2 separate regions of the Homo sapiens genome follow, and region 2 is linked to region 1. Evidence: promoter capture Hi-C in human tissues and cell types (Jung and others, 2019). All regions are on one chromosome and are shown on one strand. Each heading gives the region's core, a stretch centred on a gene start or on the middle of the fragment in contact. The rest is flanking DNA. Distances are from core to core; before and after follow the strand shown. Region 1 holds the start of MRPS23 (mitochondrial ribosomal protein S23). Region 2 overlaps VMP1 (vacuole membrane protein 1).

Evidence for each region. Contacts are between HindIII fragments. The study calls those that stand out against the background at their distance.
Region 2: a fragment that was not itself captured here is called in contact with the fragment with the promoter of MRPS23 in region 1 in 1 of the 25 tissues and cell types used here (aorta).

Annotation. Positions count from the first base shown.
Region 1 is chr17:57,847,850-57,853,138 of GRCh38, reverse strand. It overlaps MRPS23 (mitochondrial ribosomal protein S23), which reads left to right and starts at 3,095. Exons shown (of 5, transcript NM_016070.4): 1 at 3,095-3,172; 2 at 3,729-3,899. The coding sequence starts at 3,129. RefSeq lists enhancers at 2,600-3,109, 2,785-3,114. The HindIII fragment of the contact is 5,598 bases long and covers 991-5,289 here.
Region 2 is chr17:59,821,703-59,826,991 of GRCh38, reverse strand. The region is part of intron 10 of VMP1 (vacuole membrane protein 1); the gene reads right to left. Among named protein-coding and RNA genes, the nearest start is that of MIR21, 17 kb to the left of the region's middle. The HindIII fragment of the contact is 4,753 bases long and covers 678-5,289 here.

The DNA of each region.
Region 1 (5,289 bases), core at 1,846-4,345:
GCAATGGGTGGATGACACAGCACAACAGCAATCGTGTTGCTGTTACAGCCATCAGGCTTGTTGCTGCTCACAGGCACTCACTATGTCCCAGGTGCCGTGATTAGTGCTTTACATGAATGATCTCTTTTACTTTTGCAACAAGCCACGAAGATAGTTGACACTGCCATCCAGATTATTATTATTATTATTATTATTATTATTATTATTATTTGAGACAGGGTCTTGGCTCTGTTGACCAGGCTGGAGTGCAGTGGTGTGATCATGGCTCACTGCAGCCTTGAACTCCTGGGCTCAGGCCATCCTCCCACCTCAGTCCCCTGAGTAGCTGGGATTACAGGCATGCACCACCACACCTGGCTAATTTTGCCCAGGCTGGTTTTGATCTCCTGGCTTAAGCAATCCTCCCACACTGGCCTCCCAAAATGTTGGGATTACAAGCATGAGCCACTGAGCCCAGCTCCACATTTTAACAGTTGGAGAAACAGAGGCTCGAAAAGTTACATAACTTGCTCAGAGTGAAGCAATTAGTGGGCACGTCTACAATGAGACAGTGGGATTAATATGAGGCCGAGTGGTGTTGTAGGAACATGGCCTTTGGGAGTTTACAAGCACCACTTCCTTATCTGTAAGATTAGCAGGACATTACCTATGTCAGCAGGTGGTTGAACAACTGAATGAGACACTTGAGGTTCCTTGGTACCTCCCGCGGCACAGTGGTGCGTGGTGTAAGTGCCCCAGGCCCTCACAGCCTTGGGCGGCTGTGGTCCCCACTCAAGAAGACAGCCTCAAATGTCCATTCTGCCTGCCCCCTGCTGCCCGACAGCTTGCTCCTGTATTATGAATGAATGTTTCTTGGGTGTGTACTTCTTGTGTAGCCTCAGAAGGCTGTTATCCCCAAAGTACCCCCAAGTCTGCCCACCAATATTCTGCTCTCAGTCACAGAAGCAGGCTGGAAAGGGAAACTTCAAAGGCTTGGAAGAGGAAGGGACCACCCCAAGATTAGCGAGAACATTTCTGCCTTGCAGTTCTTCCCCTATTGAGGGTTTGCGTCTTTGGTTCCCCTCCTTGATCTTGGAATAAACCCTTTAACTCTTTAGCTGCAGTGACTGCACTAACCTACAGTAGCAGTTCCTGGTGGGAGAAGAGAAGTGTGCCTGTAATCTGGGCTGGCAGATAGTGCTTGCTGGCTGGGACAGAATTAGAAAGTTGTTATGAGGCCTGGGAAGACTATATTTAGCTGGGAGCATGTTTACTCTCCCCAGAGCAAGGTCTTTTAGACCTCCTGAGGGCTGGGATACTAGAGCCTTTACACCTGGCCTGGGGCCAGAGCTGTGCTCTCTCTTCTCTGTTCCAGAGGGTCTGGAGGCAGCAGTGAAATCCACCTCAGGTTAGCCCTGGGCCTCAAATCACTGGATCCCTGGCGTGCGTGTGTGTGTGTGTGTGTGTGTGTGTGTGTGTGTGTGTTGTGGGGGGGGCGGGTGGGGAGCGGCGTTCTGCTGGACTCTTGAGCCTACCAGCCTCGAGCTTTAGGCATAGCTTAGGCGGCATTGTGAGGCACTGGAAAGGGCCCTGGCTGCCCCACCCCCCCAAGGCTGGCTCTATCAGTTGCTTATCAGACAAGTTATGTAACTTCCTGAGGCCTTGCTTTCTCATCTATAATGAGGATGTTAATAGCTACCTTATGGGAAGGTATGTGGATTCAGTAAGATAACACACACAAGCAGTAACTACTCATCAAACAGTCCCGTCCTCCCCTTCACCAGCCTCAGAGTGGGAGGACTCTAGGATGACTTGACTAGGCTCCCAGGAGACATTGTGTGTGATTCAAAACATTCATTGGATTAAAAGTTCAAATATGAATACAATCTCTTTACAAGTCAAACTCTGAAGCATGTGTAAAGGAAGAAAAAATTCTCCCTTGCCTGCCTGCAGTTTCACTCCGAGATATCCAATGTTCACAGCCTTGGGTGTCCTTCTGCAGAATTTCTATCCTCAAACACAAACATATATAGAGGTGTTTCTTTTTCCTTTTTTTTTTCTAACACGTTGAGATTCCACTAAACATGTTTCTTTGCAACTTCGTTTTTCATTTAAACATAAGTCATGTACCTTAACCTTGGTAAATACATGTGGATCTAGCTCATTCATTTTAATAGCTGCATAGGGTTCCAAAGAAAGTATGAACAATAATTTTCCAGCTATTTCTCATCTGATGGATTTTTTTTCCCACTACAAACAATGCTGCAACGATGATCCTTGCACAAACATCCTCATGAATTGATGCTTTAATTTCTAAGGGGTTCTTTCCCCGAAATATGATTACTGGGTCAAAGGGTATGCTACACACAGTTTATATTTTTTTACAGTTTAACACTGAGAGATGACTTTCTCCAGATTTTTTCGTTTCCCTCTCGGCGTCTGTTTGTTCCGGACACTTTCACTTTTCGAGTTCCAAGGAGGAGGTAGCCCGCGACACCGGCCGCGGGAAACACGAGTTGCAGCCAGCATCCTAGTTAGCGTGGATGCAGGTGGCACTCCGGGGACGAGGGGCTTAGTGGGGAGCACTACACAGCCAGAGGCGGAGGCCCGAGATCTAGCACGACGCTGGGCAAGTGACGGCCCCTCCCCGGCCTTGGTTTTCTTCTGCGTAGTCTGTGACTCTAAACAACATTAGGCTCAGCCTGGGCCTAGAGCTGGTGACCTCAAATCTCGGCCTTTGTTGGCTCCCCTAGGACTGTAGGCTGCGCTTCACCCCTGCTCTGCCCCACTACTTCTCCTCCGCGCGGCCCCACCTTTTCAGAGGAGTTGGCTCAACAAGGCGAGAGAGAGTAAAGCAACCATCATGATGAATCCCTCCCACAGCTCGGTCATTTATTACTTCTGTCCGGCTTTGGCTCGCTCCTGCCCTTTTGGCTCGGCTATCGAGTGCTCCTGCCTGAACCTGGCAAGTAACCTCGGAGCGCGCCCGTTCGGCCTATCACTTGCTTCTGCCTGCGCCGCTCTCCCGCAGGGGCTGCGGTGAAAGCCCAGCGATCCTTGGCTCGGCCAGCAACTTATGCGCCCTTTACCTGGAGCAGCCGCTTCCGGTTCCGGTAGCAGCTAGTCACGCTCGGTACCAGGCGCAGATCATGGCAGGCAGCCGGCTGGAAACCGTAGGGAGCATCTTCTCTCGGTGTGTGCTCCCAGCCGTGGTGGGCTGAGGGTGCCTCCCCCAGGCTGGGGTTCTCAGCCGGTCACGCTCTTCCTTGGAGCGGACCTGAGCAGGGCGAGGCGTATTGCAGGGTGCGGGGGCTGAGCTGGGTGAGGCCCTCTCATGTTTTCTCCTGGCTCCGAATAGTTGTGCCTGAGGATGCCTCTCCTTGAATTTATGTGTCATGTTAAAGATTATTGCAGCTGCCTCTCCCCGAGTGGAGGTCTCTAGGAAGAGGAAGGGAGGAAGAGCCTGATGGGCCTTCCTTATCAGGTCATGCAAGACCGCTCTTTGCATTTTTCCGTGACCGAACGTGGGTGGGACGCACAAAAGAAGATAGAGGGATTTAACTCTCCTGAGCGTTGTTAAGTTTGGTTTGGGATGTGGACAGATCTTCTCTGTAGGTGGGGAGCAGTCCTTCCCCGTTCTGTGTTGCAGACCGCATAATACCTTTAATGTCCCAAACTGTGCTAGACTGATTCAGGGGCTTTGGCAGGCTACTGCAAGTGACCCAGTTTCGTTCTGTTCCCTCCCTAAGGACTCGGGACCTGGTTCGGGCCGGGGTGCTGAAGGAGAAGCCCCTGTGGTTTGACGTATATGACGCCTTTCCCCCGCTGAGGGAGCCCGTCTTCCAAAGGCCTCGAGTGCGATATGGCAAAGCCAAAGCTCCCATCCAAGACATCTGGTACCACGAGGATCGGATTAGAGCGTGAGTGCTCAGCCCTGTAGTGGACAGGAGGCAACAGAACTTCAGAAGGGAAGGTTTCGGTAGCAGTCTGGGAATTCAAACATGAAATTGAGTCAGGGGTTTGCCCTGTGGAGAAGGCTTATCTAGCCAAATTAGGGAGGCAGCACCCCTTCCTCATAGTGAAACTGAAGTTCTGAAAAGTGGAATCTGGAGCCCAGCAACCGAAAGATCATTGCAATTATAGCCGCATGTTTCTGGGCATCTGCTTTGGGCCAGGCACTGTACTAAGCTCTTTGCAAGCATTATCTCATTCTCTAAAGGCCTTACTCTAACTTGTAAGGAAGGCATTCTTGTTTCCATTTTATTCAAGGAGACTGCGAAGCTCAAGGAAATTAGCTAACTTCTTGTAATTACTAAATATATAGGAGGGTGGCAGATCTGGGAATCACATCTCTGACTCCAAGCTTATGGTGATCATTATGCCGGCCTTCTCCACGAGTGGAGATAGGAGGAACGTGGTCTGTGGATCTAGTAGTCCGGCTCTTTGAAGCCACTCAGATGAAAGGATGCTTGAAAGTCTAAGAGAGGCCGGGTGCGGTGGCTCACGCCTGTAATCCCAACACTTTGGGAGGCCAAGGCGGGCGGATCACCTGAAGTCAGGAGTTCGAGACCAGTCAGACCAACATGGTGAAACCCCGTCTCTACTAAAAATACAAAAATTAGCCGGGCATGGTGGTGGGTGCTTGTAGTCCCAGCTACTCGGAAGGCTGAGACAGGAGAATTGCTTGAACCTGGGAGGTGGAGGTTGCAGTGAGCCGAGATCCCACCACTGCACTCCAGCCTGGGCGACAGAGAGAGACAATCACTAGGAATTTGAAGGAAAATCATGTGTTCTTTATTTTTTTTTAGCATCCCTTTTCTCTTTTTTTTTCTTTTTCTTAAGCTCAGTGGCAAGAATACTTCCTCTTTTATTATAAAAGCAACACATGCTACTTGTAGAAAATTTAGATACACAAAGAAAGCATAAAAAGAAATCACAGGCTGGATGTGGTGGCTTGTGCCTGTAATCCTAGTGCTTTGGGAGGCATAAGGGAGGATAGCTTGTGCCCAGGAGTTTGAGACCACCCTGGGCAACATAGCAGGACTTGTCTCTACCAAAAAAAAAGTAGTTGTCTTAGTTTACACTCTGATTAGCAGTTTCTGAGAGTTCTTACTTTATCCTTGTCAGTATTGATAATGATTATTTAAGAATTTTTTTTTTCTGGGCCAGGCACGGTGGCCCACGCCTGTAATCCTGGCACTTTGGGAGGCTGAGGTGGGCAGATTGCCTGAGCTCAGGAGTTCGAGACCACCTTGGGCAATATGGTGAAACCCTGTCTTGACTAAAATACCAAAAATTAGCCGGGCTTGG
Region 2 (5,289 bases), core at 1,805-4,304, 2.0 Mb before region 1:
TACAGCTGCACACAGGTGGATGCACGTGTGCACAGGAGAATAGACAGAATTCATGCTGCATCCCTACCAAATTCACACAGCAGCTGTTTGAAACTGGTGCTCTAGTCTAAATTTCCAACTTCCAGCAAATGACTTCACTGGCTTCCAGAGTGCTCCCTCAGGAGTGTCCCCCTTCTCTGCCTCAAAACATCTTGGAGTCTTCACTCCAGTTTTCAAGAAAGAACTGGTTCATGAGGATAATCAATCCACTCCAGAATTGATCCTATCTCAATCATCTCTTATCATTTATATGAATTTAACTTCTCTGTAATAGTACCTAACAGGTTTTGTTATGGATATGAAATGAATATTTATGTAAAGCATCTGGCACAGTGGGTGCTTACTGAATGTTAATTTCCTTCCCACATCCTTCCCTTTCTTCATTTATATTTTCTATCTCTAGCATTTTACTAGAGTTTTTCCCTCAGCCTAAAATACACACTGGTCCCTCCTATTTAATGAATGAATTAATTCATCTGGTCAACAAATATTTACAAAACAATTAAAATGTGTCAGACATGACTTTCGCTTGACCTTTCCTCTAGCCCACAATTCCATGTAATCCAATATATTTGGGTTTTAATTTTCATCATGCTACTAAAATGCTCCATTAAATGGTCAACGGTAACTTCCAAATACAATGTACCCATTTCTCATCTAACAGTCTAACTCCAGAACTCCTGTTTTAACCTTTATGTGGTCTCCCAATATCCATAACAAACATATAGAAAGGTTAACTGTCAAAAGAGAAGGATATATAAACTACCACGGACAAGAAGAGAAAGGGGTTTTCCCAAGCTGCAGAAAGAGGTTATGTTAGACTGTATAACTGAGTCTCGGCAGCTGGGGTTTAAACCCTGTGTTAAGCCTTAAATTCTATCCTTTCATCAGATAATACAAATGCTGGGGTTCCACACTTCCATAACTTTTTCTGATTATTTTCAATGATCAAAGTCAAAGAGAATCAAATACATGGACCATTTTATCCTCTAAAATGAAAGGACAGATTTTCTTTCTGTAGAAGAAAAAGTCCAGGCCCACGTAGCTCATTCTGACCACTTTCCATAGAGTGAGGGATAAGAAACAACATTCGGATTCAAGCACTTTATTACTCACTGGTTAAAATGATCTCTCTTGCCACAGGCAAGCCTGACTCTGAGGTCAAGCATCAAGTTAGCTCAGAAATAGGAGACAGCAAAGAAGAGCATGGAACATTCTGTATCTGGTAAAAAGTCCCTGTTCCAGCCAACACCATCCCCCAGCCCTCAAGTTCAATGATTGAGTTATGGAAACTTTTCTTGTGTGGTAAAACTGGGGACTTTGTCTTCCAATAAGACCCTGGCAACATGACAATGAGCCAATGTTCTGCATATGGTTTGCTGCGAGTCATATGCTTAATGTTATTTTCTGGGAATTCACATCCCCTATTTGGTGAGAATATGGGAACATGTCATTTTAATCATAACTTTAAAAGTTAGATTTGGTTATGCTCTTTAAGAAATATGCACAGGTCTCTCCCACTGGAGAAAGTCTAAAATTAAATAAAAATTAGTATTAAATCGTAATTAAAAAAACAAAAAGGGCTGGGCACGGTGGCTTATGCCTGTAATCCCAGCACTTTGGGATGCCAAGGCGGGTGGATCATGAGGTCAGGAGTTTGAGACCAGCCTAGCCAACATCGTGAAATCCTGTCTCTACTAAAGACACAAAAATTAGCCAGGCATGGTGGCAGGTGCCTGTAATCCCAGCTACTCGGGAGAATCGCTTGAACACAGGAGGCAGAGGTTGCAGTGGGTCGAGATTGCACCACAGCGCTCCAGCCTGGGCAATAGAACAAAACTCTGTCTCAAAAAAAAAAAAAAAAAAAAAAAAAAATCACAACTAACATAATGCCTTTTGAGCTAGAAGTTCCCTAGTTCTTTGGTTCTATCACCTGACTTTGGGTCTCGCCATGTTCGAGACCAGGCTGGACTCAAATTCCTGAGAATTCAACCAATCCATCTGCCTCGGCCTCCCAAAGTGCTGGGATTACAGGCGTGAGCCACCATGCCTAGCCAATTTTTTTTTTTTTTTTTTTTTTGAGACGGAGTCTTGCTCTGTCACCCAGGCTGGAGTGCAGTGGCGCAATCTCGGCTCACTACAATTTCCACCTCCTGGGTTCAAGAGATTCTCCCACCTCAGCCTCTTGAGTAGCTGGGACTACAGGCACCCATCACCACGCTTGGCTAATTTTTGTATTTTTAGTAGAGATGGGGTTTCACCATGTTGGCCAGGCTGGTCTTGAACTCCTGACCTCAGGTGATCCGCCCACCTCGGCCTCCCAAAGTGCTGGGATTACAGGCGTGGGCCACTGCGCCTGGTCCTTTTTTTTTTTTTTTTTTAGAAGGAGTCTCCCTCTGTCACTGAGGCTGGAGTGCACTGGCACGATCTTGGCTCACTGCATTCTCCACCTCCCGGGTTCAAGTGATTCTCCTGTCTCAGCCTCCCGAGTAGCTGGGATTATAGACGCCCACCCCCACGCCCGGCTAATTTTTTGTATTTTTAGTAGAGATGAGGTTTCATCAGGTCGCCCAGGCTGGTCTTGAACTCCTGACCTCAGGTGATACACCTGCCTTGGCCTCCCAAAGTGCTGGGGTTATAGATGTGAGCCATCATGCCCGGCCCCAGCCAAAAGATTTTTGATACCCTTTTTTTTTTTTTTGGAGACAGAGTCTCGCTGTGTCGCCCAGGCTGGAGTGCAGTGGTGTGATCTCAGCTCACTGCAAGCTCTGCCTCCTGGGTTCAAGTGATTCTCCTGCCTCAGCCTCCTGAGTAGCTGGGACGACAGGTGCCTGCCACCATGCCCGGCTAATTTTTGTATGTTTAGTGGAGACAAGGTTTCACCATGTTGGCCAGCATGGTCTCGAATTCCTGACCTCAGGTGATCTGCCCAAAGTGCCGGGATTACAGGCGTGAGCCTCTGCGCCCGGCCCGGGATTCATTTTTCATTCTTCCTTGCCTTATTATCTCATAATTTTATTTTAAATTTCAACTGCTGCTGGCTTTTTTCTTGCTTGTCTTTTGATTTTGTTCTCTACCATGACAAGTTATCTCTCCTTTATTTGTGACTGCAAGGTTTTAAATATCCTTCAAAAGACTGCATTCTGAAGTTTACTAATTTAGTTTGATGATTTGCTATACCATTCAGCGATTTTTTTTTTTTGAGGCAGAGTCTCGCTCTGTCACCCAGGTTGGAGTGCAGTGGCGTGATCTCAGCTCACTGCATGATCCGCCTCCCGGGTTCACGTCATTCTCCTGCCTTAGCCTCCCAAGTAGCTGAGATACAGGTGCCGTCCACCACACCCGGCTAATTTTTTTTTGTATTTTTAGTAGAGACTGGGTTTCACCATGTTAGCCAGGATGGTCTTGATCTCCTGACCTTGTGATCCGCCCACCTCAGCCTCCCAAAGTGCTGGGATTACAGGTATGAGCCACTGCCCCCGGCCCGATTTTTTTTTTTTTTTTTGAGACATATCTCACTGTCATCCAGGCTGGAGTGCAGTGGTGTGATCTCGGCTCACTGCAACCTCCGCCTCCCAGGTTCGAGAAATTCTCCTACCTCAGCCTCCCAAATAGCTGAGATTACAGGCATGCGGCACCATGCCCAGCTAATTTTTGTATTTTTAGTAGAGATGGGGGTCTTACCATGTTGGCCAGCCTGGTCTCAAACTCCTGACCTCAAATGATCTACCCGCCTTGGCCTCCCAAAGTGCTGGGATTGCAGGCGTCAGCCACCATGCCTGGCCCATTCAGGGTTTTAACAGTGTGAAGGAGAGAACTAACAATTAAAGGAGAATGTTTATTTTCTTTCTTCCTTTCTTTTTTTCAAGAATCAGGGTCTCACTCTGTCGCCTAGGATGGAGTGCAGTAGTATGATCATGGTTCACTGCAGCCTCAACCTCCTGCCTCAAACAATTTTTCCATCTCAGCCTCTTGGGTAGCAGGGACTACAGGCGGGTACCACCATGCCCAACTAATTTGTTAGTGCGTTTTTTTGTAGAGACAGACAGAGTCTTACTATGTTTCCAGGCTAGTCCTGAATTCCTAGCTTCAAATGATCTAAAGGAGAATGTTTCTACAGCAGGTTAGAGACAGTGTATCTAGTGAGGAAATCCAGCTGTTCACCTCCTCTTTTCTGAAATAAAGTACTACTCTATTAATTATGATATGAAATCATATATTTGGGTCTACTAAAAATTTGTTCTCTTTATTGAACTTAATCTCCATTTTAGGTTTGGTGAGGCTACTTATTAATTTTCAATTGAACACTTGTATTTAAAAGCATTTCTGGCTGGGCATGGTGGCTCACACCTGTAATCCCAGCACTTTGGTGGGCCGAGGCAGGTGGATCACTTGAGGTCAGGAGTTCAAGACCAGCGTGACATGGTGAAACCCCATCTCTACTAAAAATACAAAAATTAGCCAGGTGTGGTGGTGCACACCTGTAATCCCAGCTACTCAGAAGGCTGAAGCAGGAGAATTGCTTGAACCCGGGAGGCGGAGATTGGAGTAAGCTGAGATCACACCACTGCACTCCAGCCTGGGCGACACAGCAAGACTCTGTCTCAGAAAAAAAAAAAAAAAAAAGTATTTCCTACTTCAAAACATAAAAAAACCAATCATGTCATGCTCAATTGGAGAATCTGATTAAAAGATAATGTTATTAATGACAAAGACTAAAAGGATACCCTTTGGGATCTGATAATAAAGCTTTACTAGCATCTGCTGAGTCTAATTATTTATACTGTTTAATATATTATCTAGAAAAGAATGGCCGGGCACAGTGGCTCACTCTTGTAATCGCAGCACTTTGGAAGGCTGAGGTGGGCGGACCACCTGAGGTCAGGAGCTTGAGATCAGCCTGGCCAAATGGTGGAAGCCCATCTCTACTAAAAATATAAAAATTAGCCAGGCATGGTGGTGCACGCCTGTAATCCCAGTTACTTGGGAGGCTGAGGCAGGAAAATCACTTGAATCCAGGAGGCGGAGGTTGCAGTGAGCCAAGATTGTGCCACTGTACCCCAGCCTGGGCGACAAAGCAAAACTCCATCTCAAAAAAAAAAAGGCCAGGTGCAGTGGCTCACGCCTGTAATCCCAGCACTTTGGGAGTCCCAGGCAGGTGGATCACCTGAGGTCAGGAGTTCAGGTGACCTGACCAACATGGAGAAACCCTGTCCCTACTAAAAATAAAAAATTAGCCGGGCATGATGG